Regions from separate parts of the Homo sapiens genome. Here region 1 is linked to region 2. Evidence: promoter capture Hi-C in 16 types of primary human blood cells and fetal thymus (Javierre and others, 2016). All regions are on one chromosome and are shown on one strand. The core of a region is centred on a gene start or on the middle of the fragment in contact, and the rest is flanking DNA. Distances in the headings are between cores, read along the strand shown.

Region 1 (3,471 bases), core at 205-2,704, 2.2 Mb after region 2:
AAGGCAAAACTGGAGCAAAAGAATAGTCCTGGGCACAGTGTCTAAAGCAGACACACCTTAAACCAACTTTGGAATGCCTTATGATTCATGTCTCAACATGAACAGTTCTAATCACAAGGGAACCTTCTCCAATGCCCTCTGAGCAGTAGTAAAATAACACACAGACTGTGTAATTTAAAGACTGCCTTACTAGCTTAACAGAGTGAATCAGAATATTGAAAACTGGCAAATTCAATAAAGGTTTAAAAATTATGACAATAATATGTTGAATAACCACTGCTATTTTAATGTTTTATTTATTTATTTGTTTGTAATTTTTGTAGAGACAGGGTTTCACCATGTTGTCCAGGCTGGTCTCAAACTCCTGGGCTCAAGCAATCTGCCCACCTCGGCCTCCCAAAATGCTGGGATTACAGGGGTGAGCCACTGTGTCCGGCAAACCATTGCTATTTTAAAACTAGACTATTTCTTAAACTCCTAAATAGCTTTCTCAGATAATAGTAGAAAGGGTACAATAAATCCAAAACAAACACAAGTCTGAAATTTTTCATCTCTAGCCTACCTTAAGCTTATATATTAAATATATAATTATTTATAATTATATAACAATTAACAAATAAACAATGTTTATTTCTCAAACCAAGTAACTTTCTATAAAAAGAATATTTATACTGCTAGAACAAGAAACTGGCTGAACAAAAGCAATTGTCTGATAAATGGCTAAATAAGTAAGGTTTATTTTTACCATATTAGGTTTCTAGAATGAAACAATTTTATAGCTAATCTGACATCTGTAATGTGACAACTGTCTTCTCACATAAATCTCTGGTAACTGTTTATATACTTTTGGGTAATACAGAAAAATGACAAATATTCCAATTTTTAAAATGCAAAATATGTATGTAGATGTATGTAGAGAATGCATTAAAACTTTAAAAGAATTTTCACACATTTGATATTTTGATATACACTGAATTCATAATTATTTTGCCCAACCCCCTAAAATTTCCAAAGAAAATAGACGAGCAAGGCCTTTTCTACCATATGAGAGGAAAAAAACTAGCTAATAAAATCAGAGTATAATATATAACAACTTGCAAGTTCAAATATACCATGCATACTAGATTTTTCTCCTTGTTTACTTTTAGAAATTTTGAGAAGTTTTAATTAATTTTAAAAGAAAAAAACAGCCACAGACAAAACCAGCTTATAATAAAAAGGCAAAAAGGGAAGTTAATGGTTAAACCCATGCATGCACCTAGCCACTCAGCAAACCTCTCTGAAAGCCCCACAATATTGCCTTCTCAAACCATTTCATTGTCATAAACTCAGGAATAATATCCTAGCTGTAATCTAGAAAAATGTCTGTAGTCCTATGCCCCGCCTGAGGGTGGACAAAAACTGGGTCATAAATGAATATTTGCTACTCACTCTTCAGTTTCCTTGTCTTCTGCTGAAGTGCCTGGCAAGTGTTCGATAATTCAGTATTTATAGTTTGAAGGTTCCGTTGTTCCGAAATTGCTTCCTCTAATTTATGCAGTAAAGACGTAGCTTTTTCACTGGCAGTGTGGGCTTCTCGATCTCGATCCTTACCCTGGACATGGATAGTTAGTGCTGGATTGTAGCAGTGTGGCCAGGAAAGAAAGCAATGGAGTGCTCACTCTTATGATGCAGGCAAAACTGAAAATGTGTTTTTCTTCTCAGGGAAGTGATAAGCCTCTCCTGAACTTCTGCAATTCTGTGTTTGCATGGGCTTGGTATGCCTGAGCTATTTCTACAGCGGTTAAAGTCCTGATATGTCAAGTTGCCTCTTTCTGCAGAGTCGCCTCTTTCATCAGCAGGCTGTTGATACCGCCTCTCTTACAACTCCCCCTTTACTTCCTCTGCTCACTGTTAGTCGCTAGGGACTGAACTTGCAGTTCCTCTTTGCTTTTTTTTTTTGTTTGTTGTTGTTGTTCCTCCTCCATTTTTATTTCATGGTTTGCAGGGCATCTGAGGAGATGTCCCCTGAATCTAATGTAGCCATGAGCCACCCTACCTGCTCCTCCACATCCTCCAGCCGTTGGCTGGTTTCTTGGAGCCTCTTCCTAAGGATGCCTTCCTGGTTGACAGCATCTTCCTGTAGTTGTTTAATGGCTTCTAGTTGTTTCTGACTGGAGTTAAAAAAAAAAAAAAAAAAAAAAGTCCAAACCGCAAGCTGTCAGTGACATTTCAACTAAGAGTCACCCTGTGAAATTATGACAAACTCAAACTTAACACCACTTCCTTAGAGATCAGAGGAAAAAGTGAAAGTATTTACATATAAATGCTTCACAAATATAAAATCTTAAGCAAAGCTTATTGGTCGCTTAGCCTGACACCCTCACTTTACAGATAAGGACTTCTAGTTTCATCTTTTACACTGGTGTGTTCAGTTCCCACCAGCTGCATTCATAGCACTTAGCATCAGTTGCCAGTTGCCAGTTACTCAGAAGATGGCTCTACAATGAGGTCAGGGTGACAGGTGCAACATTTACACATCACAGCTAGCTTTTACAGAAAAAGAAAGGAATGGGGTAAAGGTAGGGGGAGGGAAAAGAAAAGGAAAGAGAGCTTTGTTTCATGACCTTAGCCTTTCTCCTTAAGGGTTGTCAATCATAGTATAAACACGTGCCACGAGCACAGGAAGGACCGCCCCCAGGCACAGATGAAAGCTGGCGGTTGATATTTCTACTTTAGTCCTCTTTTTGCTGAAGCTTTTCTCCCCATCACCCTTCCCCACCACAGATCTCATGGTGCCATTACGTTACACCTCATTTGGATCCAATTCTAATCTCTAAAACATGTAAAAATGCACTTACTCTCTGTTAGCAGATGAGATTATTTAATGTGTGTTACATGCCAGTACCTCAATGATTATCTGGAAACAATCTGACTTGAATATGGACCTTAACTCAAAGTGGTGATAAATGTCGGGAGTTGCAAAACAGCAAGGAAGACATTGTCAGCCGTAGGCCTTGTGCATGCCTCTCAAACGTTAACATTTAGTCAGAATGCCACTGCACACTGGCACAAATCCAGCCCTGGTTACACGAAGGACCACATGAGAGGCAAGAATGGTCTCACAGAATGCTTACCATACTGGTAAACAAGCAAACAAAATCCTAAGCAAAAATAAAAACTGCCTACATCACCACACTTTCCACTGAGCGTCCTTCAATAGCTTATCGTTGTCTCTCTCACTCTCTTTTTCTCTCTTTTTCTTTAACTGTGGCAGGAACATTTAACAGGAGATTTACCCACTTAACAAATTTTTAAGTGTACAATACAGTATTATTAACTACAGGCATAATGTTGTACAGCAGATCTCTAGAACATCTTCATCTTGCATAACTGAAACTTTATACCTATTGAGTAGCAACTCCTCATTTCCCCTCCCCTAGCTCCTGGCAACCACTATTCTCTCTCTTTCTATTAGTTTAACTATTTTAG
Region 2 (3,459 bases), core at 272-2,771:
ACCTACCTATTTTGAGATCAGGATTTTTCAGATGGAAGTAGTTTGATGAACTTATGCAATAAAATTATGTAATATCATAATTTAACATAATATTTTAGACTAACTTCTCTCTCCTCAAATAGTCACAAGGGTGGCTAATTCACATACAATACCTCTCAGCCACTGGGGAGAGAGTATAATAAACTTAATTGTTTTACATATCCTGAGGCACAGAGAGAAAGGCCAATCAAATTCAAAGAGGTTTACAGTACCTTATATACATATATGATTGAGACAAAGAACTTTCAAGAATCTGTACTGAGGAAGCAAAAATGGGCTTAAGTACAATAGGCCCTGCCTTAAAGTAGAGAGACCGGTCAAACGTAAGCCCCAGCGCCAAAAAAGACAAGGTCTCACTCATCAATCCCCATCTTACAATCAAGAGGCAGAACTTAAATCACTTAAAGCTGTTTTTTCAGATTTGAGCAGTAAAATAAGCTAATAGGCCATTTCCGATTAAGTGGCTTCTCTCAAAACTTATCACAAGTTATGTGAAATGGGTAAAAGTGTTGGTTCTGCATTTTATCAAGTGAGAAACAATAGCATCCTACTTTTGGACAAGCCACTACTTCCAGAGCCACTAGCCCTCCCCCCACCTCCCACTTCTTTTTATATCATTCCTCCAAACTTAGAACCCGAAAAGCTATTCCACAAAACAAAAGCAGCACCAGTAAAAGGGGAGGCCACTGGTTTTGAAAATAAAGTTTGTTCTTTTGCTGTCAACCTGGCAACTTTTTAAAGGTGAAACGTGCCCTACTCAATCGGTTATACTCTTTTCTACTCCCACACCAAATAACCACTCGTTCGACCTCGATACTAAAGGTGAAAAAAGGAGTGGGAGAAATGATTTTGAAAGGAAGGGGCTACGGGTGCAATGGTAAAGACAGATTCTAAGACTGGTTTTGAGCACTCCGTGGCTTCTAGGAGCTGGGAGGCTTTCCTGAGTCTGTCTTGAGAAATGTTTGGCAATCTGACGCATCAGTTTTTAGGAACGGTACACAAACAGCCCCCACAATTGAAGAGCCATGCTTCGGATCCTGGCTCTGGGTGACATCGGCTGGAGGGCACGGGACGGGAGCGCTGGGGCTACCCGGAGAGGATCCGCGACATTTGTTATTGTTTGTGAAGCCCAGGCGGGGACCCGGAGCGGAGTGCTCGGGGGCCGGGGAGTGGAAGGAGAAAGGAGCAGAGGACAAAGATTCCTCCCCGGGTGCGAGGCTCCCTCTCTGGACACATGGGGCCAGTATCACCCCGGGGAATAAGAGGGCCAAGGCCGTCGCCGCAGGTTCCCCGGAGACATTTCCAGCCCCAGAATTAGCCCGGCTTTCCCTGGACACCCAAAGACACCTAAAATCTCCTCCTGCTCCTGCTCGCAGAGTTGGGGCTGGCGCGGCGAGCTCGGGCCCTCAGCCGAGCGCTACATCCGCGAACTCACCTGCCTCCGGTCGCGCCCGCGGCCGGCTCAGCCTCCGCACGGACCGCAGCCGGCCGGGCGCCCGTCAGCTCCCTTCTCCCCGCTCCGCCCTCGCCCCGCCCCCGGGAGGTGGGACCCGCGGCCTCGCCGGAATCTCAGGGCGGCCTCCCTGAACTCTCGCGAGCCTTGCCTCCTCGGCTTCTCGGTGGCTGGGTCGGTCCGACTCGCCCTGACGTCATACGCACCACAGCCGGAAGTAGCCTTCTGTCGTCAACGCCCGTCTTCCCGGCCCCACCCATCTCCGCCTGGTGAAGGCCAGACTGGTTTTGAGGGAGTTGACTGAACTGTCGCCACTTCCCCTCTCACCAGCCTCACCTCACTGCCGTTTTTACGCCAAACCTGTTCAGGCCTCTCTTGAGAGTGGCCTAATGTGTTGCGACATTAGTCACATTCTAAATGTCATCCGAATTTTTCAAACAGTGCAATGCAAAGAATGTTAGAAATGGAAAGAGAGAATTCACGCATTTTTCAGATTGGGAAACAGTTGTCAACAAAGATGGATCAGCTAAGTTGCTCAGTCGGTAGCTGTGGGGACTCGAAGCCACCCAGGTTCCTTGACGCTTCCATTTCACCATGAGGGGACTCCAGAGACTGGAGAGGAACCAGGATTTGTAAATGCCACAAAAAATACATTAAAAACCTGTTTGAGTTTTCTTGGAAAATCTAAAATAACTACAGTACTGGCCTGCTTTATCAGTAGGATCTGAGAATTGTGCAGAAGAGCACTCCCCTATAGGATGACCCAAAAGGGACAACTTTGGGAAGGTTGATGCAATTTGCGTCTGGGGACAAAACTGGCCTTTGGGAAAGCCAAATGAGAGAATGACTCCCAATTATTGTTGGCAAGTTTATCCTCAATATGAGTATTGGAGGTCTTATAAAATATTCTTAGCTTTTAGCTTACTGAGACAACGTATGAAGCTGGTACTGTGCTTGCAAAAACTATCACTTAGAAATGCCACCTGTCATCTTTAGGTTTCCCAAGAGCAGGTGACACGAGCAAAACACCTAGGAAAGAAGCATTACCTCATTTCTCTTTCTTACACTGTGCTTTTTCATACATAGCTTAGTAGTGGGAAAAGCTCTAGTTTGGTAATTAGTGTATTTTTGGGGAGATCAGCTCCACTTATATGGTCATTTTGAAACTCAAATGACAGTTGTCATATACAAGCATAGGAGGTTTAATTGTGATCAGACAAGCTTGACAGGCCTATACACCCTTCTCCCTGTACTGCACGCATACACATACCATTCAAATGCTACGATAAGATTGAGAACAGTGTATGGTTTGTTCCACAGCAAATTTATGTCTTCAAATGTGCCATACTAGAGTAATATGAACTAGTATAGAGTAGCAGTCTAGGTTAATATGGGATAGCCTAAGACTTTGACCTCTAGTTCCTAAATTCTCCTAAATTGAGACCATTGTAAACAAATTTCCCTGGGAAGTTGTTGAAAGTACCTCAACTGAAACAAATTAGAGCTATGAACCAGAATTTTGGTGGTCTATGGACCCCTTTTCAAAACAGTGTTCTTAAATGCATAAACTACCTAGGGTTACAAAGGAAATTGATAATGTTAACATACAGTTACCAAAATACTAAAAAGTGAGTTTGTAATATAATTATGTGGTAAGTAGTAGTAGCATCTAAGATGGCTGCCAATGATCCACGCCTTCTAGTATTCCTGCCTTCTGTAATTCCCTTCTCTAGTAACTTAGTTCTTAAAAAGGAAATATAGCAAAAGTGATTAGGATATCATTTCCGTGATTAGGTTACAAAAATATTCTGGGCTCCATCTTGCTTGTCCTTGCTCTCTCACTTGCTCGCTTTCATGGAAGCCAGCTGCTGTCTTGTGACCTGCCTTACAGAGAAGCCCACATGGCAAGGAACTGAGAGAGATCCAGTCAACAGCCACCAAGGAATTCAGGCCCCCAGTCCAACAAC

The links. Contacts are between HindIII fragments. The CHiCAGO score rates a contact against its expected background, and 5 or more counts as called.
Region 1: a fragment that was not itself captured here is called in contact with the fragment with the promoter of STK38L in region 2 in 1 of 17 cell types (naive CD8 T cells); the score reaches 5.8 in naive CD8 T cells.

The regions. Positions count from the first base shown.
Region 1 is chr12:25,050,917-25,054,387 of GRCh38, reverse strand. IRAG2 (inositol 1,4,5-triphosphate receptor associated 2) reads right to left here and starts at 1,682. Exons shown (of 22, transcript NM_001366544.2): 1 at 1,432-1,682. RefSeq lists enhancers at 1,808-2,177, 2,218-2,327. The HindIII fragment of the contact is 1,768 bases long and covers 571-2,338 here.
Region 2 is chr12:27,242,348-27,245,806 of GRCh38, reverse strand. STK38L (serine/threonine kinase 38 like) reads right to left here and starts at 1,521. Exons shown (of 14, transcript NM_015000.4): 1 at 1,475-1,521. RefSeq lists enhancers at 113-162, 2,751-2,810 and a silencer at 1,453-1,692. The HindIII fragment of the contact is 3,512 bases long and covers 1-2,715 here.